7 separate regions of the Homo sapiens genome follow, and regions 2, 3, 4, 5, 6 and 7 are each linked to region 1. The links are contacts of gene promoters, found by promoter capture Hi-C in blood cells and fetal thymus (Javierre and others, 2016). All regions are on one chromosome and are shown on one strand. The core of a region is centred on a gene start or on the middle of the fragment in contact, and the rest is flanking DNA. Distances in the headings are between cores, read along the strand shown.

Region 1 (4,367 bases), core at 646-3,145:
AAGTAAGTCCAGGCACAGAGGCTCATGCCTGTAATCCGAGCACTTTGGGAGGCAAAGGCGGGAGGATCCCTTGAGCCTAGAAGTTCAAGACCAGCCTGGGCAACATAGTGAGACCCCATCTCTATAAAAACCTTTTTAAAATGCCAAATGAAACTAACAGGTACTGGATTTCAGACTGGTGAGTTGTTTGAGGAACAACTTAGATGCAAACTAACGTCAATTCAACTCTTATTCACAAAAGAAATCTAAAATTCTTAATGTTGTGTTTGCTTTATTTTGAGCTGAGGACTCAATTGTTATAGAACTTCACATGTAGAACTAAAACCCATGAGGTACCCTTTTTTGCAGAGTGGAGGAAAGAGGGCAATGCCAGTTTAGGAAACTTATGTTCAGTTAAGGTGAGATTGTACTAGTTTTGGTTTTAGATTGGTAATTCCTGGAGGCTGCTCTGAAGGTTGATACCAACATTGCTGGAGAGGTATGAAATGGTCCCTCCCTACCATTGATAAAATAAGGTACATTGTTGCTACATGGAGAGGCCAGTTCCTCATTCTCCCAACAAACAAATGCTGAGCTGAGCATCAAATCTATAGGTACTTTCTTTCTTTTTTTTTTTCTTTTTAGAGATGGAGTCTGGCTCTGTCGCCCAGGCTGAGTGCAGAGGTGTGATCATATCGCACTGTAACCTCAAACTCCTAGCCTCACAGAATCCTCATGCTGCAGTGCTCCTGAGTAGTTGGGGCTATGGATGCTTACCACCCCACCCAGCTAATTTTGAATCAATAGGTACTTTCACACATACATACAATCAGGGCCGTTCTATTATTTTTCTCCTTTAGAAGACTGTCCAAGTTCTAGGCAGCAACAATGTTAAAGGAATTCAGTATATTTGCATAGGCACTTGCATAATAGTTAGATCAGATTTCTTAGTCTTTGGGTTTCCCCTCTGTCCTTCTGGCCTTTTCCTCTCCTCTTTTGAGGGGTTAGGATACGGCTTTGGGTTTCCTTTGTAGTCGTTCAGACACAGGGGTGTAGCTGCTGGTAGGAAGTTATTTATGGCCAATAGGATTCACATCGGTAAGAATTATTTATTAGCCACTGTCTTAAATATTGGAACCAAGGCAATAGTAACTGCCGACATGATGCACTGCGGAAATGGAGAAACTTTAAAAACAGCAGGGCTTAGGGAGGTGGTTTGCAGAAAGGCAGGAAGAGCTCAAGCACCAGAAGAAATGGGTCTGGTTTCTCTTCCAGTATCACCGCCAATTGGCTGTGTGACCTAGGACAAGCCACTTCTCCTCTGCCAACTGCCATGCAGCATTTACCAAGAGGACATCAAAGAACCTCCCTCACAGGCCTGTTGCAGAAATTAAATGAGATAATGGCTAAGGCTCCTGGGAAGCTTTCCCTAAATGACTACACCCAGTGGATCTGGTAGAATCAAAAGTTAACAAGTCAATCCATTCATGCTAACTCTTCTTTATGTTTAAAAGAGGAAATTAATACATGGTCACCATAAAGAAAATTCACCAACCTTTGACCTTCCAAGCTTTGAGAATCCAGCAAACACCCACCCACACTGTTGGGGAAGCCATCTCACTGTACTAGAAATGAAACCATTGCAGGTTAATGATTCACTAATTCTAATGAGACCTGGAGAGATCAGCAAAACAAGCGAAACTGATAGCAATAGGACAAAAGGAAAGTGCAAGAGAGAAACCCAGAAAGCAGCTGAATGTTGCCTTTAATACCTGTAAGATGGTCTGTCCCTGAAGGCAACTGCACCCAGGTGGGTCCCGAGGCTCCTCAGAACCCGCAGATCCAGAGTGAGCTGCCAGGCGAGGGCTCGGAGCAACAAGTTCCACACCTGTAACAATGCGTCCTCCTGGCTGAGTGAAAGCAACCTTGCTACCAGCTGCAATGAGGAACTGGTCTCTCCCCTCCTTAGAGACATTTCCAGTTATTTGTTTATGAAAAAGCCTAAAGGGAAGCCAGCTCAGAATCTAAGGCAGCCTAAGAACAAGTCAGGTAAACAACGGCTGATCAAATACAGAAATGATGCAAATGTAACTTTTTACTTCCTCTTGAGGCATTCAACAAATCATCACTCATAGTTCAGTGAAGCAGTTCTAGGTTTCTATTTCATTTATTTTCTCTAAGGTTGTGAGATGCATTCTTTGGGACTCTACTTTCTTCACATCATAAAACATTTTGTGTTGATCTATTTTATTAATGACTTGCTTTGATAAGCATTGAATAGTAGAGGAAATGATTAGAGCACCAGGGAGTGAATTTGTGAACATTAGTTTTCAAATAATTAAAATGCAAATGGAAGAGCATTTATATCTACCAGTATTCTCATTAGATCAGTACCCCAAAGAATATTTATTTGATGCCTAGGTGGAGATAATGCATATGTATGCAGCATTAAACAAAAATGTCTATAGACTTTCCCAAAACAAAGTTGAAGTAATTCTAATGAAGTCTAATTCACTGAAGTTTTCATTGATTGGACTCATTACAGATACTTACTGTGAAGGTTCCCTGAGGTCGGTAGTTCTTAAAGTAGGGTCCCTGGACCAGCAGTATCACTATGACTTGAGAACTTGTTAGAAAGGAAAAATCTTCCCCCTCCATGCTCTCCAACCCCTGGAACTCTGGGATGGGGTCAGAAGTCCGTGGTTTTTTTTTGAGACAGGGTCTCACTCTGTCACTCAGGCTGGAGTGCAGTGGCACGATCTCAGCTCACTGCAACCTCCACCTCCTGGGTTCAAGCGATTCTCCTACCTCAGCTTCCTGTGTAGCTGAGATTACAGGTGCACACCACCAGGGCCCGGCTAACTTTTGTATTTTTAGTACAGACGGGGTTTCACCATATTGGCCAGGCTGTCCGAACTCCTGACCTCAGGTGGTCCACCCACTTCGGCCTCCCAAAGTGCTGGGATTACAGGTGTGAGCCACTGTGCCCAGCCAGAAGTCTGTGTTTAACAAGACTTCCAGGTGATTCTTACATGGGTTAAAATTTGAGAACCACTGCCCTTAGAGGAAAAGAAAAAAAGGTCTAACTTATAGATGTTGGCCTTGTGATAAACTTTATATTAGTCTTTAATTCTCTCATATTGATCTTACTAGAACATCATTTACTTAGAACTTTGAAAAATGACTTGATCTCCTGCCCTCACCACCATTGCCAACATTACCATGACTCAACCAAAAGCAGGATATCAAAAAATATTTTGCCTGCATGGAGCCTGCATAAACAGTTCTGAGCTCCTGCCAAGGATGTCTAGAAGTGAATTGCTTCAATTTGGGAAGGAAAAAAATGAATAAAGTCTTTTAGCTTTTAGTTTGTGGAAGGAAGGTCATACTCTTTTCTACCAATCCCCTCACGCACATGGGATTGTAAAGCTGTCTCTCCTAGGGGATAATGATAATGGAATACTTGATCCCAATGCAAAAACTTCCAACCTCTGGTTGTAACTTCAAGAAGGAAATTAAGAGTCTTATAGAAAGGTCACAAAAGATTATCACGGAAAAAAATGTGCCACCTCCATCTGATTTGTCAAGGAGATGGCAACAGGGAGGCATTTTGGGTGGGGAAGGGACACCCCAGAGTCAGCTTTTCCTTTAAGAACCTGGGGCAACCTCACTGTGGCCCTTTCTCAGATGACACATGGAGGTGCTCTCCAATATCGCAGAGGGAGCAGCTCGCCTCAGCATTTTTTGCCTGTGTGTAGTTTTACGTTTATGTATGCTTTGCTTCAATAAAAAGTATACCTTAAAAAGTATGTCTATGCTAAAAGATGACATCCTGGTTTGCTTACTTTATGGCTTTGAATTGGCAAATTCCTAAAAGATATTTTCTTTCTAGTTGTTGAAAAGAGGTATGAGATTTATTTGAGCTTCCTTTTAGGTTTTAGGGCTACAAAAATTCAGTTGTACCATATTTACAATGATTAATATAGCTGGGCACAGTGGCTGATGCCTGTAATCCCAGCACTTTGGAAGGCCAAGGTGGGCAGACTGATTGAGCCCAGGAGTTTGGGACCAGCCTGGGCAACATGCTGAAACCCCGTCTCCACAAAAAATACAAAAATTAGTTGGGTGTGGTGTTGGGCACCTGTAGTCCCAGCTACTTGGGAGGCTGAAGTGGGAGGAATGCTTGGGCTGAGGTTGCAGTGAGCCGTGATCATGCCACTGTACTGCAGTCTGGGTGACAGAGAAAGATCCTGTCTCTCAAAAACAAACCAAAACAAAAAAAGGTGACTATCAGATTAATATCAATGCATCTTGATATCTTTCAATATTTCTGAGGTATTTATTTAGGAAAAGTTTCTAGGTAGTACATATTCTGAGCTGTTTCATAC
Region 2 (4,367 bases), core at 713-3,212, 1.3 Mb after region 1:
CGGCCTCTTCCTCTACAATCACCTCATTCTATTTCCAAACTCAATGCTGGACTCCCTCTCATGGGTTGTTGCACATTTGGTGATGAATTTCTTTAACTGGCTCTAGGCCAGGATGATAAAGCAAAGACTATAAAACACACAGAATTACTGCAAAGAAACAGAACCCACATTCTTTCCAGATATTGCATGTTGAAAACTACATATCCGTAGTCATCTGGAGATTTCGTTGTTTAGGAATACAATTCCTAGGTGGATTTTTCTTTTTCTTTTATTATTATAATTATTATTGTCAAAGGAAACTATTATAAACTGAATGCAATAGAAAAAAAAGGGTCTACTACCACTTTTAGTTTCTGTAGTATTGGTTAATGAATATGATACTCCTCTCTACAGCCCCTCTCCCCAACATCCATGTTTTATGGCAAAAGATTATAGGCTCATAAATGCAGCTGGGGCCAATAATTGATGAATGCAATATTTTATGACAGATTATGCATTTCCTTAGACAGGTAACTGTTACAGAAATATTGCTTCTTGATTATAACCAATCAGATAATAAAAATATGTTTCAGTTTTACTGAGATGTTTGATTTTCTTAGGTCTTGTTGTGCCACACCAGGAATAAAGCTTAATTAAGGATTCATTTACTAATTGTTTATCATAAAAGCTATATTCAAGGGAAAAAGTTACATTGAATCCATAGTTTTCTGGGAGGAGAACATGGGAACAGTCTGTTTGTGACCTGTATTTCTCTGCCAACTTCAGGACTTGGTAACCTATACAGGTTTCCTATGTGAGAGGTTAAAGTGTGGGTCCTTCTGTTTCCTAAAAAGGAAGCCTATAAAGCACCACATCATCTTTTAATTATTTTCCATACAATAAAGCCAGTTTAAGGCCATGAAATGGCCTATGAGCTCCTATGTGTTATGTAACATTTTCAGTGGTTACTGTAGCAACATTTTGTCCTTTATGGCATTTCATTTCCATATAAAGTAATCTGCATTGTTATGGGATGCTTTGTCCCATAGTGATGACCATAAACCATGCTCAAGGGTCTCAAACACTGACTCCCCACTCCCTTTTGTTCTACCTGAAAGGCGCCTACTAAGCTTCTTCTTTTAGTGACTATTAAAGGGGGAAGGATGCCCTGAAGAGGTTCGTCCGCTGTCCAACAGCGACCCCTAGAGGCACAATGCCTTGAAAGTGGCCAAAACCTCCAAAACTTCAATGCTTTTCTCCAATCAAGTGCTGCTGTAATTTGCTTACCTTGAGAACTATCACAGCATTAATCAAGACCTGCCTTTACTCTGAAAACATGGGCTGCTTTTGGTGCCCAAAAACGAAAGCCCAAAGTTTCGGGAGCTTTACTACCTACTATCTACTACACATACATTTGTTTTCTCTTTGTGAGATTTAAGGGAACCGTGGAAGAATTGCTTTTTATTCATCATCAAATAAGCATAATAACAAATTTGGGCATAGTCAAGATACAACGCCTTTGATGGCTTTTCGTTAGTTTTTTGTTTTTGTTTTGTTTTGTTTTTCGCTTGAAAAATAAGTTAAAATCTCAGGAAGAAAGAAAGAAAATCCTAGCGCTTTTTCTTTTCTGAGCTTGCAACTGTTTGTAGCTCAGGCACCCGGATGATTCATCCCATGAAAGCCTTGAGCGCTCCATTTGTTTTGTAGATTTCACTACTCCCTTTGTTCCGCTTCAAACCTTTCAGAGGGCTGAAATGCATTATTACCTTGTTAAAGCTCAACCAAAATCATTTCTACAGCCTGAAGCTGTTTTGACGTGGGTTGAGTATCTCACACAAAAGAATTGCTTTTGTTCCCAGAAGCTCTTATTGGCTGAGTGGCCTTTGCTCTGAGCCAATCAGAAGCTAGTTGTTAGGCTTGGCTGGCTATTTTTAGCCCAACACGCAAAAACACTTGGTCTTGGAGGGGGTCGGCTGGAGAGTGAAAGGCCCTGTAGTAAAAGCCAACAGCTAAATGCATTTTGGATGTCAAGGCGCGTTTGACATTTTCTCTTTAATTCCTCATACGCTGTTACATTAGCATGTGTTTTTCGTAAACAACAAACTTAGAGCTGCATTTCCCAGTCCTGAATTATCCATTTAGTAAAGAGACAGAAAGGCTAAGAAACAGCATTCCCCTTTTATCCAAAAGCAACGCACGGTAGTATCTAGTTATTTCATAACGCAAAAAAAAAAAAGTCAGTTACCGTATTGAGAATACTAAGGTGTTTTTGCCAAAGAATTTTTATGAATTTTCATCTTGAGTTAGAAATTTTCAATGCCTTGCTCATAATGAATTATAGAGTCCTAAAATAATCTTTTCCTCTTGCCCTTTAAATATGTATATAATTACACGAACGAGTATACACATGATGTGTAGCAATTAAAATAATAAATGCTGAGTGTGTTTCATGCATTGAGAAAAAGCATTCTTTTGAGCATGTTCTTCCATTTAAGCCATTACTCAGAGGGCACAAGAAGTATTTTTCCCAAATGCGCTTCAAGAGACAGGGCATTAAAACACACAATTTGTTAATTATCCGATATTATCAGGAAATGAAAGTTGCCAAACGGGAAAAGCCAGGCTCTTAAACTTTGATTTTCCCTCAGCAGTCTATTCAACTGGGCTTATATAAGGAGGAGACAAGCTGAACCCAAATTTTACAACACAAAGCAATTTTTATTGGCAGCAAGGGAGACCCCTTCCTGAAAAAGAAAGAAAAAACCCAAATCTATGTCTAATTCTTAAAATATGTTTCAGGTTGTAGATTTTAGCAATATTTATTATTCAAGCTTGGGAATATGACCTCATTTGCCATGGTTGTTTGCTTATTTTAAGAAAAATGCCTTTCTACTTCTTGTTGCAAGCCATCAGGCAACCATTTAAACATGCAAGCAAAAAGTCTGGATCATGGGCATATTTAAAAATCTGGAAGACTTCAATAAGTTGTAAAGATTTACGATTCCATCGTGGGCTTGCAGAAGGGGTTTGCTGTGGCCTTCTGTGAGCAAGGGCGGCCTAGTATATGGTGGGCATAGGCCAAAGAACTTACCAAAAATTCTACCAGAGTGAAGGGAGCACAAATAGTTTTGGGGGAAAACTTTCCTTGTCTTAAGCAATACCGTATACAGTGTTTAGAAGGAATGTCACCTAGGTTTCAGAAGGTGAATTTGAAAGGCTGAAATAAAGTACTTTAGAAAGAGGTATCTTTTTCTTTCCAACATCAATTTGATGCACACAGGGACAGATTTTGAGAAGCTCTGTAATTGCTCCCAGGAGTTGAGTTAGGTTGAGGTAGTCAACCAGCTGCTAACAATTTAGTTTAATATGCAGTCTTAGTAAATTAAAGGAATCTGATAAATTGAGACCCAGCATGATTCTTATTTGTTTGCTATGGCATAACATGTTGAACGCCAGCAGAAATTAACCCATTGAAATTTTTCTACTCAAGGCCCCCATTTTATTTTCTCACTTTCCTGTGTCAGATGTTTTTGCTCCAGACTTGGTCATCTGAGCAATTCCTTAGTTTTATGCTTATCTACTTAAAAAATATATATATAACAATAATACAAATTCTAGAATCATGCTTATTTTCAGTTTTCTCTCTGTGTTTGTATTTAAACTCCTTGAAGGTAAAAATAAATAAATAAATGAGTCTGTTACTCCTCTTGTGTGTTAACCTTTCTACTTCACATGTAGATCATCTTAAACATGCTTGATGTAGATTTTGTTTTCTGTGGGAGCTGAGACACTTGTGGGAGGAGAAATGTGCAATTTTGTACTTGGCTACATCCCCAGAGGAGTGGTGACCAGAAAAGGGAAAGACAGCTTGCCAGATACCTAAAGGATAAATGAGATATTGAGCTACTGGAAACACCAAAATTTACCATTGATTCTTTCTACACACTAAACTGTTACTTGTGATAGTAGTTGTAAAAAACTGCATGTTTATTAACCGAAAGGTGATTGTTCTAACATTCACTGGGAAAGAGTGAAATGGTTGGAATAACACTTTAGCACTCATACCTAAAGATTTGCAAAGCCAAAATGCCAGGCAAAATTAAAACAGGCTAAATTCATATGTACAAAAGAGCTGTAATTCTTTTATGATGAAATAGATATTTTCTTAGAAGCAACAGTTTCCTGTGTTCTGTAAAGTAAGCCAAGTCAGTAATGGGTAACTCTGGCATCTCCTGCTCTCCTCTCACCTCATGGATGCCAGGCTTTCGAGTTGTATTTCAATTCTCCCTTACATTGTGGCCTCTTTGCCTCACTCCCAAATTCCTCATACCTCTTCCAAACTTGCAGTTAGGAGTGAATATAGGATCCTCCTCCTCCTCCTCTTTCTC
Region 3 (4,367 bases), core at 894-3,393, 1.3 Mb after region 1:
CAAATGGTAAAACCATCATTTTGTTAGAAAGCAAGTCAGGCCCCTAAAATAACATTATACATCCAGAAGTATTTTTTGAATGTGCATTTGAAAAGAAAAAACACATACTTGAGATTCCCTTCTTGAAAATCTTTAAGAAATTTTGATTCAATGTGTTTTCAAATGTTATGATGAGATTACTTTAGATTTATACTTAAGATAAAATGTATAGGTAGGAATTTTGATGAGATATTCTCCTTGTCATGTACTGTACTTACTGATTGGAATGCTTGCTCTAGTAACAATTGAAAAAACATTTTTTTCATGCCGCACAAAATTATTTATTATTATGGAGAAGCAGGAAGCCAGCTAGTAATATGGATGAGAAAACTTTACCTTATTAGGCAACAGAGTAGCTTTCGTGAAGATCAACATCCTCACATCCTGATAAACTAATCTCTCTTAGCAGGAAGTAAAAGGAAACTGGAAAGAGGATGCTGTCTTTATCTTCCACAAGCGTAATGTTATTTTTGTGATAGCAGGAGATAGAAGGGAGCCAGGGTGAGAAAAGGGAACCTAATTCTGCACTATGATTAGCTGAATGTGAGCTTCTTGACGTAAGACATCAAAGAGTATATGTATTTTATTCCTCATAATTCATTTGCAGAAGTTAGAAGTTGTGCATGTGTTTGCAAAAGTTAAATGTGTACATGCGTGTGTGTTTGTGTATGTGTTAGAAACCTTTCTTAATACTGGCAATTAGGTTTTTCTCATTAGAAAAAATAAATAGAAACATAGATTTTACATAAAAACAATATCACAGCTATGAAAAGAAAAGAAATATAATGACAAGCTTTATTTCAAGAAAATATAAAGATGCAAGAAACTTTTTTGTCAAAATAAGATAAAACTGGAAGATAATAAGATAAAGGATAAAAAGATAATAATAGAGGAAGAGTGAGAAAAGCAAAAAATTGTGAGAAGTTTATTACAAAATGGGTATTGATGGTTTCTTTAATTTCATACTTTTGGAGTTATTTTGTATTTTGCTGAAAGGTTTAGCTGTTTGAACAAATTATTGCCATGACTCTTATCAGTCAGACGTCTTTAGGGCAGTCATGGAGGTATTTGGCTCAGATCTACCTTCAAGAGAAAACCTGTCAAAAGGAAGACAAATTAGATAACAGCCTCCAGGTGCAAGTATGCCTCAAATTTGAACCAAGACCTTATGATACCCAGACATTTTTCAGCCAATGAGTATGGCAGGGGTACAACAGAACCTCAATTTTCAGGCACAGGACTCCTCAAAGAGCAGTCCTCCTAAAGGAGATCCCCATCATGTTGGCTGGGATTTTGTCAGAGCTGCAGTGCTGTGTGAGGCTCATCCTATCCAATCTTCTGGCTTCCTTCTCACCTTTCATAGGAGCCAGGCCTTTACTACAGTGTGAAAGCTTCCTTTGGATGTTCCTGCCTTCTTTGCCTTTACATGTTTAAAAGGTATTATTCTCCAATAATTTTTTTTTTGCACTTCTAACTCAATCTTGGCTTTCCCTTTCTAGAAAAACCAAGTGACATTAATTGATACTGGACACAATCTGTGATATCAGTGATTAAGTTGGAGTTATGCAAGTGGATCATTTGCCACCAACCAGAAAATAAGGATTCCTTTCAAGTGGATGTGGGATATGAATATTTTTTGGCACAAGACAGTAGTTCAATTGGTAAAAATTTCATCAATGGTGACTTTGGAGAATGTCATGTTGCAGGTGAATGTCCTAACCAGGACAATATTCATGCATTTGAAAAATCCAGCGTGAGAAACATAGAAAGGTAATGAAATTGACTAATTATTACTAAGTTGCATTTGTGGGACAATGAAAATTGAATACGTTGCATTTGTGGGATGATGAAAAATTGAGCATTGTTAACAAAAGCCCAAATGTAAGTGTAAAAGCCAGAAGGCATCTTGGGCAGCCTATAAAGTGTTTTTATCTTTTGCAAAGAGAGAGAGTGGCCATAGCTGGAGAGGAAATTCAGGATCTGCTGTTTAGGGCCACTGAGCTGCAAAGATGATTGGATGCTCATAGAGGAATTTTCTTAGGCTAAGGTCAGAGATCTGCTTGGGAAAACTTGAGGCATTAAAATATTGGAAGAGGACATCTGGGTAAATTTCCCCAAGGATCTACAACTTGAGAGCCTAAAGAATTGACCCACCATTCTCTATGAAGAGCTAGACATTTTCTCATGCAAGAAGATACTTCAGAGGCCACTTTCACATAAGATAAATGGTATGTTTATCAGGAATTACTCCCACTTTTTCTCTAGGCTTCTAGGCTAAAAATCATGGCTAAATTCCAGCATAACCCAGCTGAGGGATAAAAACATACTGGGACTGATAAGTAAGAAAAGAGATAATCATTTCATTAAGTTCAATAATTAGCTAGTATGTGCTTTCAGGATTCAGAATAGTATCCATGAGATTGGATGTTTGAGTATGCCGTGGTTTGAATGTATCCTTCAAAATTCATATGTTGGAAACTTAAGTCCCAGTGCAACAGTGTTGAGAGGTGAGAACTTTAAAAAGTAGTTAGATCATGAGGGCTGTGAACCCTGAAAGAGCCAATCCTTTAAGATGGAACCTGAGTGGCTAACTGGGCCTAAATTCAAACGGGAGCTGAGTTCCATTTGCTGACCAGACATTACACATGCACTCTTCATTCTTGGAAAAACCACATATTGGTATAACTGTGAGATTCTCATATCTGCCTATTTCTGTTTATACTCCTGAGCCAATGGTTACCATCACTTTGATCTAACCAATAGCCTGTGACCCACAGTGAAACTTAACCTCAACCAGCTGAAACTAAGCAAGCTTGCATCCCTCATTTGCACAGCATAGCATAGTGGGAACCTCAGCAGGAACTTTTTCTATAAAGGACAACCCCTGTCTTTGTTCTGGTAGAACACATCTTTGTTTTGTATTGAAGGCTGTGTATCCCCCGTTCACAAACCGCTTGTGGAAATAAAGCCTCTTTAAATCTGATACTTCTTTTTCAGTAGTCTTGTTAACAAGACTCTGTCCTCATTAATGCATTAGTACCATTATTGCAGGAATGAGTTTCTGATAAAAAGATGAATTTTACTTCCTTCCCTCTGTTTTGCATGTGCTCTCTTGCCCTTCTGCCTTCTCCATGGGATGACACAGGAAGAAGACCATCACCAGAGGTAAGCCCTCGATCTTGAACTTCCTAGCCTCCAAAAATGTATGAAATATGTTTCCTGTAAATTACCCAGTCTCAGTTATTCTGTTATAACAGCACAAAATAGACTAAAACAGAGTACTTGCTCACCAGGGCTAGCACTTATGAGTAGAAATGCTAAAGTTTTCTGTTTATTTTTTTTCTTTTTAAACTTGGGGGACTTCTCTTGAAAGACGGGATTTAATGCCCTGACAAAGACCATAGAGCATGGGAAAGATTGGATGCTAGAGTAGGCCTCAGAAACCTGGAGAAAGACTTGGTGAGTTGAAATGTCTGAACTACTAGAGAAGGTAGCAGAGGCATAAAAGGAGTAAAAGAAGGAGGAGTAAAAGGCTCAGGAGGGTGAGTATACAATTTGTGATGCCAGGAAACCCAGCAGAGGAATATACTCCATGAAAGCCCAGTGGATGCATAGTCCACAAAAGGTATAAGGAAAGTGCTGGTGAGACAGATACCAGATACACTAATATTTTCTGTCATGGCTCTTTTCTGAAAGGCTGACAGTAGGAGAGATTGTCACATAGCTTAACTTGTTAATAGCAATGGAGATGATAGAGACCTGAAGACATTGAGCATAGATGGCAGTGCTTACCTGCTGGAAATTAGGAGGTTGCAATGACCATATATGGGTGGCATGAGTGGAGGGCACTGAAGAGTGTTTCATATCTAGAGAGTTTTATTCTTTTCTATGCCATCAGCAAAAAATATTTTTTTAAAGTTTTCATTCACATGGAATCTTCAACTATAAATTTACATTTTTGTCTCTTAGCTATGTTAAGTCTCCTGCCGTCTGTCATACTCCAAAGAGATCAAAACTATGAGGACATCCCTCAGAACATAGCCTTGCTCCATTGCACTCAAACTGATCCAGGAAGAAATAGGTAGTAAGCTCAAAGCCTTGGTAGACATGGGCTCAGAGTGAGATAAAACCTTTGAAAAATAAGAGACCTGCCATTTCTGTTAAGATTTTAGGTATCCCATGTCCCCCAGTAAATAGGGTCATCCCCTTTAAAAAGTAAAAGATAAATTGATTTAGCTTGCATCCCTACCACAAAGTAAGAAGCACAAAACTTTGTAGCTCTTCAAGCTCTGTATGCAAGCTATTCCATACCTAAGAATAGTCTTTGG
Region 4 (4,367 bases), core at 797-3,296, 1.3 Mb after region 1:
AAAAGTTGTTTTGTTTGTTTTTTTACTTATTTCATGGCCCTTCATTCCCCACCTACCCCAGGGAAACCTGTTCTTCAGCTTCACCGAACTCCTTGCCTCTCTAAAAACACCACAGCCTTAATTTTGTACCTTTGTACATACTCACCTTTCTGTTTGTGATCTACTCCACTCCTCAATCACACTCATATTTATCCCCCAGGCAACAGTTCAAATGTCATCTTTGGAGGGAAACTTTTCCCAACCTCCTCCCTCTGGGCTCTTAAAACACTTTTTACATCCTTCTATATACCCTTAGTTTATCCATGTTATGTTAAATATTCTGTTGTATTTCTACCACTTCTTAGTCTTTGCTATGCCTTTTCCCAAACATCTTATATTGACAAACACAGTTTTAGTGCTCTATAAATATACCTTGATTACTAAAATTTAATACATTTTATGAATTAATAAGCAAATTTCTTTTGAGGGGGTTTCAGCTCACAACACACTGTTTAATAAGGAACTCCATGGAGTCTCTTTTGAACAAATAAATATTTTTCTTTGTGAACACAATTTATGCTATGAGCCAGTGTCATGTGATTTCTGTGCAAACAGTACTATCTGTCATAATAAAAAGATGTTCAGATCTTTCTCAACAATTGTGTTTTGAAAAATCCTGATGCCTGATGAAGAGTGATCCAAGTTCTAGGAAATGCCAGCAATTAGGGATTATGAGAATACCAAACACGTGTGCTAAATAGATTACCTTGAACATTGCACACAATTCATAAACTATGTGGTGCCTTAAAAAACAGCAACAAAGAAACCAGCTAGATCCTGACTTCAAAGCAGAGCTAAGCCCAGTATCCTTGTGGTGCACATTAAGCCTGTGCATGGAGCAAAGGTGTGTTTCTCTTGGCTGTTATCTACTGTCATAAAGGCAGGATGCAGGACTCCCTGAGCTGCCATCCCATTCTGCCCACTCTCTCTGCTGTCTTACAGCATGAACAAGCAGGACCCAAGGCACCCAGAGGAAGGGACCACTTACCCCAATCCAGACCAGGAAGCGGCAACCTACTTGGTTGTATTTTCTCACAGAGAAAGAAGCAATATTCATTCTAATTTTGGTCACGCAACAGCTGAGTAAAACAAAGTATCACAGATGAAACACATTATGGTTAGTCCAAGACGTTTGTATTTTAAGGTAGTTGGCTTCTTGTCTCTCACCCTATGATGACCATTTCTGGCCACCTCTTTTCTCTAAATTTCCATTTTAGCATTTTGCAGCTAGGGTGGCTTTTACTCTTTTACTGAAATTGATAACCTCCAGCATGAAATTGTTTATCAAACTTCCCCTTTTTGGGGTGGGGTGGTGCTTAGCATATTTTCATTTCTCTAAACATTATTTTATAATTTTGGTTTGCAGTCTTGAAAGAAAAGTTTTTTAAACTTTGTTTTCTTCTGATTTTAAATAATCCTGTTTTCTGACAGGATTTATAGAAAAAATTTAGGAATTTAGAACTCCCAGATGTCATATCTGGATACAACAATTATTGTAGCACAATATATATTTATGCAAAAATTACAAAATTTTAGGACATCCCCACCCTAATTCCTAATAATTAGGTTCAACATCCAGATATTAGAAAGAAAACAAAATTGTAAATTTACTTAAGTATATATTGTGCTGAATACTCAGGAAGGTTTCTCAATATAAAGATTCAAGTTTTCCTCTGTCTCTGGAATATTGACTTATTGATTTATTTGTCTTCTATCATGGCACCAATGCTGCACTACCTTTATTACAATGCCTTTATAAAATCTAGAAGTCAGGTAGTGTTATTTCTTCAGTTTTGTTATTTTTCAAAATTGTCTTGGAAATCTAGGTCATTTGCATTTTCTATAAATTTTAAAATCAGCCTTTCAATTTTTTTTTTTTTAAGCCTTCTGGGATTTTTTTTTTTTTTTTTTTTTTTTTTTTTTTTTTGAGATGGAGTCTCACTCTGTCGCCCAGGTTGGAGTGTAGTGGCTCGATCTCAGCTCATTGTAACATCCGCCTCCTGGGTTCAAGTAATTCTTCTGCCTCAGCCTACCAAGTAGCTGGGATTACAAGCACACACCACCACTCCTGGCTAATTTTTGTATTTTTAGTAGAGGCGGGGTTTCGCCATGTTGGCCAGGCTGGTCACGAACTCCTGCCCTCATGTGATCCACCCGCCTCTGCCTCTCAAAGTGCTGGGATTACAAGTGTGAGCCACCACGCCTGGCCACCCTTTCTCTTTTTTACTTTCTGTGAATCACTACTGTCTATCCCTTCTTTGAAACTTCTTTTCCCCATTTAATTCCATGGGCAATATTTTCCTGGTTTTGCCCCCAACTCCTTTACACCAGCTGTAAAAGCTGGCATAATATTGCCTAAAATGTGTTCCAGAGAATACTACATCCTCAGGTTATTAATTGCCTAAAAAATACATACAACAATAATAAAAATATAATAAGAAAGACATTCAAATAAGTTTGGGCAACATGAACTCAAGATTCTTTGTTGTGAAGTCTTTAATATACTAATGTGCATTATGTATTATTTGGCAGGGGTTATGATATATGGTTTTATCAAACATACTTGTCTTAAAAATCTTATCCACGGGGAGTTTTGCAGAAACATTTAGAAATACTTTTCAAAACACCAACCTGGTGATATAATAACAAGTAATGGGGCATTAAAAATTGCCATGCCTAGCAGGGGGAATCTGAGTAATTCTGGTATCTTCCCATTCCTCAGTTTACTCATCTATTTTATTCTCCTACCATGTTTCCAATTTTTTCTGTAAAATTAGATTACATTTTGTTATTCAATGTAATATTAATTCATAATTTATCATCTTTACTGAACTACACATCTTTGTAACAGTTACAATGATCCTGAAATTTCAGCATCATATTACTTCACATGAGAGATATTTTCCTCAGAGCAGCTAATGAGATTACTTTTGGTTTATGATGTGTACTAAAAATAATTTTAGGAGAGAGAGCAGGGGTGAAAATGGTGTTAAGAAAGCAAAATCACCTTTGATGAAAGCATAACTCTGAATTACAAAACTGTTCCAACCTTCCATTGTGTGGTCAGAGGGAAACACTGGACCTCAAAGTACCAATTATGGGTTACAGCTGGCCTGTTCAAGATGACTAGAAGTACTCTGCATTAAGGATACAGGCAGAACATTGTGGTTAGACTTGGAGCTAGATATGCACTTAGAAAAACAGTTGGGTTAAACCAAACTCCCTCCACCTGAAAGGAGGGTGACTTCAAACTCAAGTGAAAGCATTAGTTTCCAGTTAACATGACAGAGTGGCCTAATCAATAATGAATTGCAATGAGTCCATGGGCCATTCTGCCTTTCTTGATCAATATGGTTTCTCACATCTTTATGGAGTGCTGGCAGAAGTGATGCTCCCTAACTCCCAAGGGAAAAGTTGGCAAGACACACCAAGGCCCACATTTAAAAAACCAAGAGAGTAGACACTATTATTCGGCATTTAAGAACCAAGGCAGGAGGGAGGGAGGAAACAAGCCACCATTAATTTAATATTATATTTTTCTGTGATGAAAATAAAACACAAGAGCATTTATGCTTGATAAATGAAGAGGGATAACAGTTTATATTTTGTGTTCATTTAACATGTATTTAACAAACTTTATACAGTGGTTTTTAACTTGGGCTTTTTGACTCACATTTTGCTTACTATTGACTTGCAAAATAAGTTTTCAATTTAGTTTTAATATAGAAAAGTTAGGTATTTAATATAAAATGAATATTAAATCATTTATCTAGAATCAAAAATGTGAGGTAACACGGAAGGAAATATAGTTTTTCCTTATAAGTATGTAAAGATATTTGATAGTTGTGCTGCCTGCTGGGTGTTTTAGAGCAATAAAATCTTTTCTACTATTTTTTGCCTATTTAACCACAATAAATGGCCTAGAGGTCAGCCTGCTCAGCTGCCATGGTGTGGAATCTTACAACATTTCAGGAAGACAAAATGTCTTTCATTTTAAAATCCTTATTCACTGTGATTTTGATATGAAAGATGTTACCAAAGTGTTGGGAGAGATTTCTATTGGAAAAGCTGATTATACATCCAGATCCTCAAAAGTATGCTTTAAGAAATTTATGGTTAAGGGATTAACATCTTAGAGCATGTGATGAACAATTTTATGAGTCAACTTGGATTGGCTACCATACTCAGTTATTCAATTAAACACTAATCTTGGTGTTGCTGTATAGGTATTTTGTAAATGTGATTAACATATACAATCCTTGACTGTAAGTAAAGGAGATTAATCTTGATAATTTGGATGGGCCACATCCAATTAGTTGAAAAGTTTT
Region 5 (4,367 bases), core at 1,176-3,675, 1.3 Mb after region 1:
ATTATTTAGTATTCAGGTAATACTTGAAACACTTTCTGTATATCATTCCATTTTCGTACTTACAAGAAGTATATGGAGAAGGTGCTATTATCGTCTCCATTTTACAGATGAGGACACTAACAAGGTCAGTACAAAATTAAGTGAAAGAATAATTTTAACCCTCTTGGTGTGGAGAGTAAGCACTCAGTATGGTGATGATGATGATTATGTCAAGGATGACAGAAGTGGTGATGGTGATAACAATGACAAAGATAAAATTTCTACACATCAGCCTTATGCCGTCTTAGATAAATATGCATGTAACTACTAAAAAATAGGATCAATAGTTTATTTAATAAGCATTTACCGACTCTCTTTGATAACCAGACAATGAGGCTCAGATATTACACAAAGATATCATGATATTTTCAAGGCATCTCTAGACTAATAGAAAAGAAAAAAAGACCATGATTCAAAGAGGAAAATATTAAAGGAATGAATTATGGGGGAGGTAAGAAAGAAAGTAGGGAGGAGATAGCAAAGAAAATATAAAGGAGAAAAGAAAGGAAGGCAGGGTAATCTTGTAGAAAATACACTTAGCTTCATTTGGATTGCACAGTAGGAGATATATTCCAGTCTCTAATACATGCCATGCATCAATGCCCATATTCAGAAATCAGCTGCTGGGAAGACACGTGTATACACAGCAAGCATTTTTCTTAAGGATGTATGGTGATGCATAGCACATGTCAAACTGGAATCTGGCTTTATACAATATGACTTACTGGATCAATGGTCCCAATTCAATGTGCCATCTGTAAAAAAAAAAACAAAACACTGTAGCACATGTGTATACAACTAATATTATGACATGCAAAATTATGAAATCCAGTAAGAAAGAGATGGATTATTTTTTCATTCATTCTGTGACCAGCACTGTTATTCCAAATATGCATATCTATAGATTATGGAAAGGGTTGGAAGGGATATGGAAAGACAAGAGGAGAAAAAGGGCAGAAATGTCATAGCAGCTTCCAGCTGCTTCAAATCCCTGGGAAAGAGGTTTAGTATACATTCCATCAAAAAAAAAATGTGCATTCAATAGCTTTAGATACATTTTGTGCTGATCCAGTTAATATGTCAAAATATTCTGCTTGAAGCAAGAAGACAGAAAAGCTTTGCCACACCACAAAGGGGCATCTAAATCCCATCACTCCTTTGTCACCCTCTAAGGAAACAGCATTATGTAAGCATCTGATTTGCATCATTGGGGCGGCCTTGATTTCTGAGAAAGCTGTTTGCAATTCAATAAGCTCCATGCACAGTGTTGCCTTTCATGTGATTCCTTATGGTGCTGTTGATAATGATCATAATACTTTTTTCCCCCAATGGAGAACACTGAATCAATGCCGAAAAATCAAACTTTTGTTTCTGTGTAAGCTAGAGGGCACATGAAGATTGAGAGAGAGAGAGAGAGAGAGAGAGAGAGAGAGAGAGAGAGATGAGCCTTCATATTTCATAATCTCTGACATAGATTAAGAAAGTTTCCCAACAGGTCACTAGATCAGATAGGGGCAATGTTGAATTGATAGCTTAAAAATGAAAGCTGCTACAGTTTGAAAAGTGAGAGAAGGAGGAAACATGAGAAAAGGGAGAGAAGGAGGAAAGGGGGAGAGAGAAAGAAAGAGACTGACAGAAAGAGACTGACAGAGACAGATGGAGAGAGAGACAGAAGACAAAGAAAAAATAGAAATTGTTGGCAAGGCTGGATCATGGGATGTAAAAGCAACTTTGCCATCCTTGAGAAGGTCAAAAGTTCGTATGAAAATTCATCAAATACTCATTTCGCTCATTCATTCTTCTTTGCCTTTTGAGTATACCGGTTATGCCACAGGATCTTGGAAAGCCTGGGATTTTCTTTCATTTCCCATTTTGAATAGGTAAATAACAACCACCTCCTTTCTGGTCCTGTAAATCTTAATTTTGTTTCCATCTGAGCTGAGTTGTTAAGAAGTTAATGATTTAGAACTGCTTCCTGCTTTGGCTTGCTTACTCTTTCATGGAAAAGTAAGTGAAGGGAGGCACTTCTTAATGTGACGGGCAAGGCTATGTGTCTCTAGGTTGGACTTCCCTTTTTTTTTTTTAATTCTTTCTAAATTTTATTTGAGATTCAAGTGATACATGTTTATGTTTGTTACATGAGTAAATTGCATGTCGCAGAGATTTGGTGTACAGATTATTTTTTCACCCAGGTAATGAGCATAGTACCCCATCAGTAGTTTTTCGATCCTCACTCCCCCCATCCTCCACCCTCAAGTAGTCCTAGTGTCTGTTGTTCTCTTCTTTGTATCCATGTGTACTCAAGGTTTAACTCCCACTTATAAGTGAGAACAGGCAGTATTTGTTTTTCTTTTCCTGTGCTAGTTTGTTTAGAACTATGGCCTTCAGCTCCATCCATGTTGCTGCAAAGGACATGATCTCGTTCCTTTTTATATGTTGGATTTTTGAAGTGATGTGGCTGTGGTGTTGGAAGTAACATTCAAATACAGATATCTCAGCAAATGTGAGATAAATGAGTAGCACTATTACTGATATCTGGGAGGACAAGGACGGAGAAATAATAAAAGCAATGACAAGGACGTTGAGAACAGGGTTCATGTGTTTCGAAGCAATTTCCACAAAGTTTAGTATAGAAAAAGGCACCAAAAAGATATTCCATGCTCATTATTACTTATTCAGAAACATGAAATAGACCATGTGTGGTGGCTCACACCTGTAATCCCAGCACTTTGAGAGGCCGAGGCAGGCAGATCAGCTGAGGTCAGGAGTTCAAGACCAGTCTGGCCCACATGGTGAATCCTCGTCTCTACTAAAAATACAAAAATTAGCTGGGTGTGGTGGCAGGCGCCTGTAATCCTAGCTATTGTAACCCCAATTACTTGGGAGACTGAGGAATGAGAATCACTTGAACCCAGGAGACGGAGGTTGCAGTGAGCTGAGATCACAACACTGCACTCCAGCCTGGGTAACAGAGCAAAACTCTGTCAAAAAAAATAAAATAAAATGAAACAAAATAAAATAAAATAATTGCCCTGTAATAAACACAAGAACAAAATAAGATTTCTAATATAAAGTTGCTTACAGTCAAGCAGGGGTGACACAGGTGAGCCAATATAAATAACTCTAACATGTTCTCCTCACACAACTTTTATGTCATTTTTTCCAAATGACATGAAATATTTTGAAAATATGAAAAATATAAAGTAGATTTTCTCAATTTGACATTATTGCCATTTTGAGCCAGGTAGTTTTTGTGGCTGTCCTCCTGTGTATTGTAGGATGATGAACAGTGTCTTTGGTCTCTATGCAACTAGAAGCCAGTAGAACCAACCCAAAGTATATCCAGACATTAGCAAATGTTCCTTGGGCAAAATGGCCCTGATTGAGAAACCAAGTTTGTTGTGGTTGTTGTTGTTGCTATTCTTTGGATTTTTGCTGTATCCACTTTTATATTTCATTATATATGCAATAAAAGTGGCAGGTTGATAAACTTCTCCTGAAAGCCATTCTCTCCTTTTTCTGTAGCCATATAAGCTGACCTGAGCACATAGCCATGCCATTAGGGGCTACATATATCAACTTCCTTTACAGGTAGATGTACTCATATGATCATGTTTAATAACTAAGTGAAGAGATGAATAGCACTTCTAAGCTTTAGCATTAAAATAAAAAGCATGCTCTCTTCTGCCTCTACTTTCTTTACTATTTCCGGCTGGAACAATGACAGGGATGACCCAGCTTCAACAATGCAAGAATGGTAACTCTCTAGAACACAGAAAAACAAGGAGATGGAATTACTTTGTCAGTGACAGATTGCCTGAATTACTTTTTGAAACAGAAGAGCCTCATCAGCATCAACCATCCACCTTGAGATGTTTTGGGATCTCTTTGTTACAGAAAGTTAGCCTTTATCCTAACAGCTGTAGAATATATGTATAATTTTATGCACATATATAATTTATACATATTTTATGTTAGGATTATCCAGAGAAACCGACCCAATTGTGTGTGTGTGTGTATATGTGTGTGTGTGTGTGTGTGTGTGTGTGTGTATATGTGTGTGTGTGTGTGTGTGTGTGTATATATATATGAAGAGAGAGATTTTATTACAAGAGATTGCCTTTCACAGTTATGGAAATTGAGAAGTCCTACAATCTGCCAGCTGCAAGCTGCAGGCCTGGGAAAGCTAGTGGCGAAGTTCCAGTCCAAACCTGAAGGCTAGAGAACCAGGGAAGCCAATCCAAAGGCTCAAAAATCAGAAGCACTGATGTCCAAGGGCAGGGGAAGATGAATTTCCTAGCAAGCAGAGAGAGCAAATTTGCCCTTCC
Region 6 (4,367 bases), core at 567-3,066, 1.2 Mb after region 1:
TTGTTTTAACTCCACAGTAGGTTTAGAAATAGAATGAAGATTTTTATATGTATTTAATCTGTTTGTCCTGATATTATTCATTGATTTTAATTCTATATAGTTTGAATGACTATAGAAAATATCAATAGCATTTTAACTGAGTATAATTTTCATCTTTACATGCATGACTAGAAAAAAATTCAGTTATCCTTAAGCAAAAATAAATCTATTTTTCATATAGAAATAAATTGCACATTGCCATTTCTTTTCTTAAAGGAGCTGCAATCAGGAACTATGGAAATAGATTCCACTGAGACTATCACAGATATTTAGTTACATCATGGCTGACTTCTTTCTTTGTCTTCTTGTGATAAGGGCTGAAGCATATTTCTTTGCCCACTTGACAAGTTTATACCAATTTCTGAGGTTACTTTGAACCACATAATATGTATTTAAAATCCAGTTTTTCCTTGTCTGGGATGAGTATGGAAAGAGGCGGTTTGTTTTTTAATATTATTTCTTCACTAAATAACATTGAGTAGGTGATATCAAGCATCAGAGCAATTTCATATGACTCCAATCTCACCCCATGTCATGAATAATATGTGAATTAAATTCTGGTGTTCAGGAGTTTTTTAATCCATATGCTATTTCATAGAATCATGGATAAATAGAATCAGAAGGAAATTCCAATCCTGTGGTTTTGGAATGGAATTCCCTTTTCAAAAATCAATCTTGTGTAGAAGCCCTATACATAAAATGATATAAGCTGAGCTCCTTCACTGACTGGGTAAGAGGCTACTGAGTTTCCCCATGCAATTCACGTGTCCCATTACATCTTTATCCATGTAGGCTCTTGAGCATCTCAACAGAATACAAGAGGCCCTCAGAAGACACTGCAAATGCAATTCCAGTTTCTGTCATATTACAAATAAATCAACAAAAACCTGAAGACATGAAGCAACTTGTCACAAATGAGGGTCACAGAACACAAAGCTTTGTACATGTTAAGTCTCAAAATATTAGTTGCCAGGGTGGATGTTATATTAATTAGTGAATGAGGCATACCTACAAATCCGGGGCATTTTTCACATCAGAATTACTATTGTTGTTTAATAGAATGTTGTCTTCATTTGTCTGAAAATGTTCAAAGGAAAGTGCAAGAGGAGAATGGTGTTGTGAAAATAAACACCCAAAAGCCTATGAATAGGGCAAAGAACTTACAAAACATTTGGAAGAGCTCTTAGTACAATATCTTGAGGGGACTGCAAACTATTCAGTCCAAGTACCATTGTCGCACAGGCCTGGTGGGCCTCTGGCTGCCACTAAAACCATGAATGCTTTATTGTGTACATCATCCCAGAGGACGAGAGGTATTTCCCAAGAACAAGAGCTATGGCTAACTCTAGGATCGGGTTGAAGGTATACTGGACCTTCAATTTAGAGGATCTATCAGATAGACTGTAGTTGAGTTTTATAATGCCACACAAATTACCAGGCATAGAAAGCTCTAGACAGTCTAGGATCCCTGGATGTTCTAATTGTTTGAGCACTGCAGTGTGCTGTAGCACATATTCTTACTTCATATTATTTTAAATACTTGATTTAACCAGATCACTGATTTCCTTTATTGGAAGAAGACATTTCCTCTTTCTATGCTTTAGTTATCCCATAACACAAGAGATGTTATACCAGCATTTAATAGAAAGACAAAATAAGTTACCACAATATGAAAATGGTATGCTTATTACAACAACCATGAGAGGACTGTAGAAAATGCAGTAAGACTTTTGCTGGGTTTCAAAATTTCATTTAACATCTGAAAGTTGAGACAACGAAGAAGTATTGTTACTTATCTAAAAAGAAGCAGCAGATCTATCCTCAAATGGCCAGACTAGTTCAGTCATCATACCTCCCAGTAGCCAATGTAAATGTAGGTTAGAGGGTTGTTGAAGAGCATAGTTGATGAGCAAATCTGGTAGGTATATATAAGACTATCACATTCCCTTTTCTCTCTAGTCTGGTAAGGTTGTCTCCCAATAACCACCCAGAGAGATCAGAATTTGTGTTAAAAGGGGAGATTAATGTTTCACTAACATGTTGTTAATTCCTTGCTTGATGCTTGGCAGCAACAAAAATGCCTAAGTCTGCTCATGTTGATATAGAACAGATATCTCCAGCTTGGAGTTATCTTCTGGAGTTTGCAGAGGCAGAGAATGATGCTTGTGTCTTGCCTGAAGAGTTCTGAATGCTGGAGGTTGCCTAGAGTAGGTCTCAATGGCAGCCCGTAGAAAAAGAATGCAATGAATTGGCCTCACTCCTGAAGTTTGTCAGGGCCAGCTGGTATGCGTTTTCACATGGACCACCTGAAGACCTAGTAAATTAGGCAGGCTTGAATATTTTTGAAAGGACTCAGATGCCTGCCAAGAGGAAAAATGGACCATTTTCCTTTTTTTGCCAGGAGAGAAGGGTGAGTTGTGAAACGTCTCCCAGAGGGTCTATTACCTACATCATGAAATGGTGCAGCGCAGAGATACCCAGCAACAGAGGAGGGGCTTTTGCCACTTTACTTTGCACCCTTTCTTAGCTCCTGACCACAGAATAGTTAGAAGCAGTGTGAGGAGGAGGTAAAAGAAACAGATTTTCAGAGCAGATCAAGAACAGGAAAGAAAAGCTTTTTCTACTTTTGGTCTCTATGAGCCCTAAGTAAGCCCACACAAAGAGAGCAAAGTCATATTTGAAGTCAGCAGGGAGAAGAAAGAATAAATGGCGACTTTATTTACTCTATTGAAGATAGACTGTTTAGTATGCTAGTTATCCTTGTTTTGCGTTGAAGAACACTGAAATGCAGAAAGAGGAGTGACCAAAGGGCACAGAGGTAGGAGATCACAGAGCCAGGAGTCTTGTGACTCCAAAATAAATTTCTTGAGAGAATGCCACATTCCCTCTATAGAGAGGCTGCAAAGAAATTGAATGTAATACATATATTCCATGCTGTCTTTGTCTTCGGCATTTCAACTTATATTTTAGAAGGATGAGATTGAACATTGGGAATGAGACATCCCGACACTGTCTGGGTTACTGTGAGTAAGTGACTTCACCTCCTGAAGCCTTTTTTTTTTTTTTTTTTTTTTTTGAGACAGAGTCTCGCTCTGTCGCCCAGGCTGGAGTGCAGTGGCGCAATCTTGGCTCACTGCAAACTCCGCCTCCTGGGTTCACGCCATTCTCCTGCCTCAGCCTCCGGAGTAGCTCGGACTACAGGCGCTCGCCACCAGGCTGGCTAATTTTGTTTTGTATTTTTAGTAGAGACGGAGTTTCATCGTGTTAGCCAGGATCTGAAGCCTTCTTTTTTTATTTATAAAATGAAGAGATTGGATCAACTTAGCTACAAATTCCCTTTCAGATTTTACGAAGATATAAACATAGCTAAAAGAGGGGGGAAAGGGAAGGGAGGGATGAGGAGAGGGAGAGCGGGAAAGGGAGGGGAGTGGAGAGGGAAAACATGCAAGTGCAAGGAAGATCCTGTATTCATTGTGTTAGCTGGATATTTTACACCTTAAATTTGCATTTTTTTTTCTGGAGAGTCAGAGAATTGAATTAGAACTTCAAAAATTGGCTTTGTTTCCATATTCTCTGCCTCCTCCTCATCATTTCTTTTACAGGCATTGCTAAGCTGATTTTATAATAATAATAATAATAATAATAATAATAAATCACATACTTTTCAAAGCTGGAAACACTTCTACCTCTCTGACATACTTTCAGTTGTGGACAGTAAATTCTTCAACCTCTGAAAGCACCCCCCAAAACTGGATTCCCAGGAGAAATAGTGTTATGGAGTTTTTTTAAAAAAACGCAATATGTGAATGAGACTGGGAGATTGTAATCTCGGATATGTTTGTTGCTGCAGCTTTCAATCCTGTCACAATAGGTGTCATGAAGATGAATAAAGTTGGTGCCATCTTCTGTTTTCATTATCATCCAAGGGGCTGGGATCGGAAAGGCTTCATTTTGTGCCACTGTCATTTCTCATTACTATCTTTGTCATGAGAGTGAATTATAACAGCCCTCAGATGCCAGCCATGGCTTTGCTCTCATTACAGACTTTCATTCTTGGGACGAAGACGGTAATAAGAGTGGAATGTCGTGTAAAAACAGAGCTCACTTTCATGACAGTTGGAAATTGGTGATGAAAATGGAAAATGGCAGAAAAAATTAATCCTTTTTTTGTGGCAAAAATTGCCCTGCAAACAGCATCGTACACCAAAGGTATCCTTTACTGTGGCAATGACAAAGCAATGAAAAGGCAAACAATGAACAGCTTTTGGAGCCAATGAAGGGATTCTGAAGCATCCATCTTGCTTGGTGCTTTGGAAATGTATCCCTTA
Region 7 (4,367 bases), core at 913-3,412, 1.2 Mb after region 1:
GAAAGCATTCATTAATAAAACTGAGTCCATACACTGTAATAAGGAATATATGCAGTTTACAATTTGGACTATTCTGAACTACATCATTGCTACGCAAGACCATTCTCTATTTTTTCTTCAATAAGGATAAGTGGGTGTCCAGAATGGCTACAGGTATTTTCATTTAAGGTGGGAGAAATTTCCTGTGAATCACAGCTTACTTTGTCCCAACTTACATATTTCCTAGGATGTCTACTTTTTGATGTACGGTATCTCTTAACTAAGTCTGATTTTGTTTATGCCTGCTGTCAAAATACCATCTCTAAATACAAAAGTTGTATGTTTTGATTTCTGCTGAAAGCTTTGCTCTCTTCCAATACATTCTATGAAATGTTGCAAAGACTGTGATACTTAAGCTTTCTCTTTCTCTGAGAATTCTGAGTCTCAGTTTTCTTTGCTATCTGCATTCTCTATTAGGTTTATTATTTCTGATGAGAATGCTGTTTTAAGTATAATTTCCCTTGAAAAGTTCCCATCAGAAATGAATCCCTCATTGTGTAAAATATAGCCACTGTTATATTTCCTTTCTGTCTCCAGCAACAGTAGTTTAGAAGTACTCCAGGGAACTAATGGTTTAAGCATTCCTTGTCAAATATCATGTGAGTAACACTAATATAATTGTTTTTCTATCAGATGGCTTTGTAACATAATTCAGGTACTTTCTACAACTACTTTCAAGGCAGTGTCTACACAACATCATACTTCTGAATAAAGAGCAGGAAAATCTATTTCATTTTGAAACAAAAACAATCAGTTTTATATTTTGAAATTATTTATGAGATTATATTCCTTCCTAAGTGACTTAAGGTTAGATATAAAGTGTATGTGGTAATATTTAATTTAGAACAAATTGAGGTTAGTGGGTATAACTTGACCCTAAAAATTCAATTCAACAATCATTTTTCAAGTGAATACTATGTGCAAGGAGTCCTAGGATTTATAGGGAACCTAGTTCTGGTTATTTTTTCTAAAGGTTCTAAAACTAAAAAGGATGAAAAGCTACATAGGTAAAAAACCGAAACAGGGGGCCAAGCTATGGCCTGGTCTCTGCTTCCTGCTGCAGTGCGGACTTCCTTTAGCAGGTAGGATGAATTCTCAGGACCTATATTTTGCCACTTGACTCAAGGAGTTGAGGCTGAAGGAGCCTAAAGGACCCCACGCAGGATCTCACAGTTTGAGGGGAAGATGAAGGAGGATAGAGCGGGAAGAGCAGCTTGGAGTCTGTCAGAGACTGGTCCCCAAGACTGACTCCACTGACTTTCCAAACAATAAGTGACCATTTGACATTATGGAGTATAATATACACAAATGACTGCATATATTTTCCACTAAATCCTTTCCTTACAGGGAAGTCTTTCTAGTTTTTGTTCTACAGTTATTCTAAAATTAGTCAAGAAAAAGAAAATAATTTTCCTGACACATGAACACAGATTTGAAGGCTGAGCAGACTGCTGGTAACCAAAGCATAGAATAATTTTCAGAAGAATACTTATATTTAATATTACCCTAACAGTATCAGAAATGTCTCTTATGAAAATATCTTCTGTACTTACTATCAAAAGAGAATCACTTCAGCTACATTGAGACGAGCTATGAGCAGGAAAGGAAGTTGCTGGATTTAATGCAGGATCCTACAATACATGTTCACAAGTTACATACTTTCATGCCTAGGTGGGAAATTGGACACGCAGAGGGAAACAGGGACATTTTTCTGTTTCTGTGTGAACCACAGAGGATTTTGGGAAATACAATGCTGTTTTGGCCTATGATTGATCTGTAGCTTTGGGGCAGTCAAGAAGGGGTGCTGATAAAGAATGTGGCCAGTGCCACATGCTAGAAAAGAGGATTTGTGTGTTAAGTGAGAACCATCTGAGACTCTTCAGATGGAACCGAGAAAGACTTTGAAGGAAGCTAAAGAGTCTGCTACTTAGCAGGAGCAGACTATTATTGCTACTAGTCTGGTCCCATTTATATTCACAGGCTGGTAAAGCCCAGCAAGACCTGCTTATATAATGGAAGGTGAACTGTAAGCTCCATGGGGGCGGGGCCCAAGCCTGTCTAGTTTCATTATATTACCCAGAAGACACAGGACTATTTGGGGAAATGTCAAATATTTCCATTTAGGTGGTATGCTGGGTACATGAAAAATTGTAATGAGAAGAATATTAGAAAGAGCAGATGGAAATAGAATGTGGAGAATGTCGAATACCACCGTAAGGACTTGAGCTTTCTTCCATAGTAATTGGTAGCTGTTGAAGGTGTTTGACCAGGAGATTGACAGAGGGATGTCGGGTCCCTCAGTCTTCCACATTTTGTAGCTTATATTTTGCTTCACCCTATGTTGAAATGTAAATACATGCACAGGAAAAGGAATTAAGTCTTTCAGTCATGACATATATACTACATTGAGAGAAACTAGCTCTTTTTTTCAATTTATAGTTATGGGGTTTATATAAACAAATTTCATTGATGTTACTTTGCCTTGTTGAACAGAATAGAGCTTTAACAGGAGAAACAACCATCTTCTGAATTCCAAAGAACCTTGAATTCTCATGTCTTTCTAGGTGTGTTCCTCTAAGGTCTAGAATTTGTTAATTGCTATGATGTCTTCGCCAAGAAGACTGGTCTGTGTGGCTACTTTCAGGACAACTATTGTCAATCAACATCTGCAGAGACAATGACAAAACAGCCTCACTACATACCTAGGCAGCTTCTGTTCTCAAAATAAATGATCTCAGCTGTTTCAAAAAATAAAATAGTAAATACGACCATCATCCAAGTTTCCATTCTGTACCATTCCATTCTGTACCATTCCATTAAATCTGTTGACGAATTATATCCATATTTAAATACTCTTATGGATAAAAGCAGAAATGTGTCAGGATAATCAGCAAAAATGTAAAAATCAGAGTGAATTGATAACTTAGTTGTTATATTGGTTATGGCACAATGTCATAGGGAAAAAATGAGCTTCAGGGTCAGAGAGTTTTGTGTTCCAATCTGAATTTGAACACTTACGAGCTCTGTATCTCTGGGAAAGCCATTTAATTTTTCTGAACTTTAGAATATCTTCTATACAATTAAGATAAAAATGCTTATTAATCAGATTTTCATTGATTAAATAAAACATGGAAAAATACATTATACAGTGACTTGCAGATGCTCTAGACAAACTGAGTTGTCATTTTATGTCCTTTCTATCCTACATCAGATAACTGTTTTGAATGATATTTTTAAATGAAAGTTATTAGAGTTTTTTTTCTTAGCAACATTTATACATTATAGTGTTTATATCTATCTACCATCAAAATGAATTTGAGGTAATTTAAATCATTAGAAAAACAGGAAACATTTATTAAAAAATACTTAAATTAACATACAGAATAAATCTCTGCAGGAAGATAAGAAAACAACTGGCATGAAGTAAAAACTGAAGTTCTTCATCATAGCTTTGAAAGTCATGCACAACATACAGCAAAACCTACCTTTCTGTGCTTATTTCACACTTTGTCCTAACACACATCTTCTGCTCCAATCAAAGCAGACCATTTGATAAGCCCTACATATCTCATTTGCTTTTCTTTTCTACCTGAAATGCTTTCTCTTCCTACCCCAAAACTTGAACGAAAACTCAGCCAAAATGTTCATGCAAAACGCTCATCTCTTTTATACAGATTATAGAGTTCCAGACCTGAATGTTTCTTTTCCTCCTTTGCCTCCCCTTAATTCTGTCTTCAGGAACCATCAATGGTTATTGTCCTATCCACCTTGTTTGTTCATTGGCCTTAGCTTCTCTCCCTACAACAAGAACTCTGGACTGTCCCCCTGCCTAAAGGATGGATTGAACCATTTATCTCTCTCTCTTCTGCAGCATCCAGTACAGAAGCTTCCTTATTTTTATTATTCACTTTATATTTGTTAAATTGTAGTAAATGGGAATTTAATACTAAACTGTTTTCTGAGCTTCCTGACAACAAAGAAAAAAAAAAGGAATTATAGAACTTGGAGATAAGTTGTTAAAAAAAAGGAAAAAATGATAAAAGAAATTAAAGAATGTACTTTTAGTTGTCCACTGAATAAAACATAATAAGGTCACTTGAAAAGCCTTTTTTTTTTTTTGCTTCTGATTTCTAGGATAAATTTATCTCATAGATGTTGGGCAAGGGTGTTCTGGATAAAAGAAGAGTGTGAGCCAAAATACAGAGGCAGGAAGGGAGAGGATGAGCAAGGTTTAGCTGGAGGGTCTGGGTGGAAGAAAGGTCAGAGGCCTAGACTATGACTCTAGGTTTTGACTGAGAAACACTCTTTGCACATAGCAACTCCTTTAT

The links. The method cuts DNA at HindIII sites, captures the fragments that hold promoters and counts their contacts. A CHiCAGO score of 5 or more calls a contact.
Region 2: a fragment that was not itself captured here is called in contact with the fragment with the promoter of PLEKHG7 in region 1 in 11 of 17 cell types (M2 macrophages, total CD4 T cells, total B cells and 8 more); the score reaches 10.4 in M2 macrophages.
Region 3: a fragment that was not itself captured here is called in contact with the fragment with the promoter of PLEKHG7 in region 1 in 11 of 17 cell types (total CD4 T cells, non-activated CD4 T cells, naive CD4 T cells and 8 more); the score reaches 17.2 in total CD4 T cells.
Region 4: a contact is called between a fragment that was not itself captured here and the fragment with the promoter of PLEKHG7 in region 1, in 6 of 17 cell types (non-activated CD4 T cells, activated CD4 T cells, naive CD8 T cells and 3 more). The highest score is 12.8, in non-activated CD4 T cells.
Region 5: a fragment that was not itself captured here is called in contact with the fragment with the promoter of PLEKHG7 in region 1 in 4 of 17 cell types (activated CD4 T cells, non-activated CD4 T cells, naive CD8 T cells and 1 more); the score reaches 10.2 in activated CD4 T cells.
Region 6: a contact is called between a fragment that was not itself captured here and the fragment with the promoter of PLEKHG7 in region 1, in 4 of 17 cell types (activated CD4 T cells, non-activated CD4 T cells, naive CD8 T cells and 1 more). The highest score is 7.7, in activated CD4 T cells.
Region 7: a contact is called between a fragment that was not itself captured here and the fragment with the promoter of PLEKHG7 in region 1, in 4 of 17 cell types (non-activated CD4 T cells, naive CD8 T cells, activated CD4 T cells and 1 more). The highest score is 7.4, in non-activated CD4 T cells.

The regions. Positions count from the first base shown.
Region 1 is chr12:92,700,517-92,704,883 of GRCh38, reverse strand. It overlaps PLEKHG7 (pleckstrin homology and RhoGEF domain containing G7), which reads right to left and starts at 1,895. Exons shown (of 17, transcript NM_001377329.1): 1 at 1,752-1,895. RefSeq lists an enhancer at 1,695-1,754. The HindIII fragment of the contact is 11,169 bases long and covers 1,552-4,367 here.
Region 2 is chr12:91,379,026-91,383,392 of GRCh38, reverse strand. All of the region lies in intron 4 of LOC105369896 (a long non-coding RNA gene), which reads left to right. Among named protein-coding and RNA genes, the nearest start is that of LINC02823, 54 kb to the right of the region's middle. RefSeq lists enhancers at 836-1,667, 1,668-2,501. The HindIII fragment of the contact is 1,701 bases long and covers 1,112-2,812 here.
Region 3 is chr12:91,396,551-91,400,917 of GRCh38, reverse strand. LOC105369896 (a long non-coding RNA gene) reads left to right here. Exons shown (of 9, transcript XR_001749251.2): 3 at 1,539-1,809; 4 at 2,081-3,204. Among named protein-coding and RNA genes, the nearest start is that of LINC02823, 72 kb to the right of the region's middle. The HindIII fragment of the contact is 1,421 bases long and covers 1,433-2,853 here.
Region 4 is chr12:91,418,787-91,423,153 of GRCh38, reverse strand. The region is part of intron 2 of LOC105369896 (a long non-coding RNA gene); the gene reads left to right. Among named protein-coding and RNA genes, the nearest start is that of LINC02823, 94 kb to the right of the region's middle. The HindIII fragment of the contact is 8,988 bases long and covers 1-4,367 here.
Region 5 is chr12:91,439,063-91,443,429 of GRCh38, reverse strand. The region is part of intron 2 of LOC105369896 (a long non-coding RNA gene); the gene reads left to right. Among named protein-coding and RNA genes, the nearest start is that of LINC02823, 110 kb to the right of the region's middle. The HindIII fragment of the contact is 2,536 bases long and covers 1,158-3,693 here.
Region 6 is chr12:91,455,300-91,459,666 of GRCh38, reverse strand. All of the region lies in intron 2 of LOC105369896 (a long non-coding RNA gene), which reads left to right. Among named protein-coding and RNA genes, the nearest start is that of LINC02823, 130 kb to the right of the region's middle. The HindIII fragment of the contact is 1,678 bases long and covers 978-2,655 here.
Region 7 is chr12:91,477,476-91,481,842 of GRCh38, reverse strand. All of the region lies in intron 2 of LOC105369896 (a long non-coding RNA gene), which reads left to right. Among named protein-coding and RNA genes, the nearest start is that of LINC02823, 150 kb to the right of the region's middle. The HindIII fragment of the contact is 3,530 bases long and covers 398-3,927 here.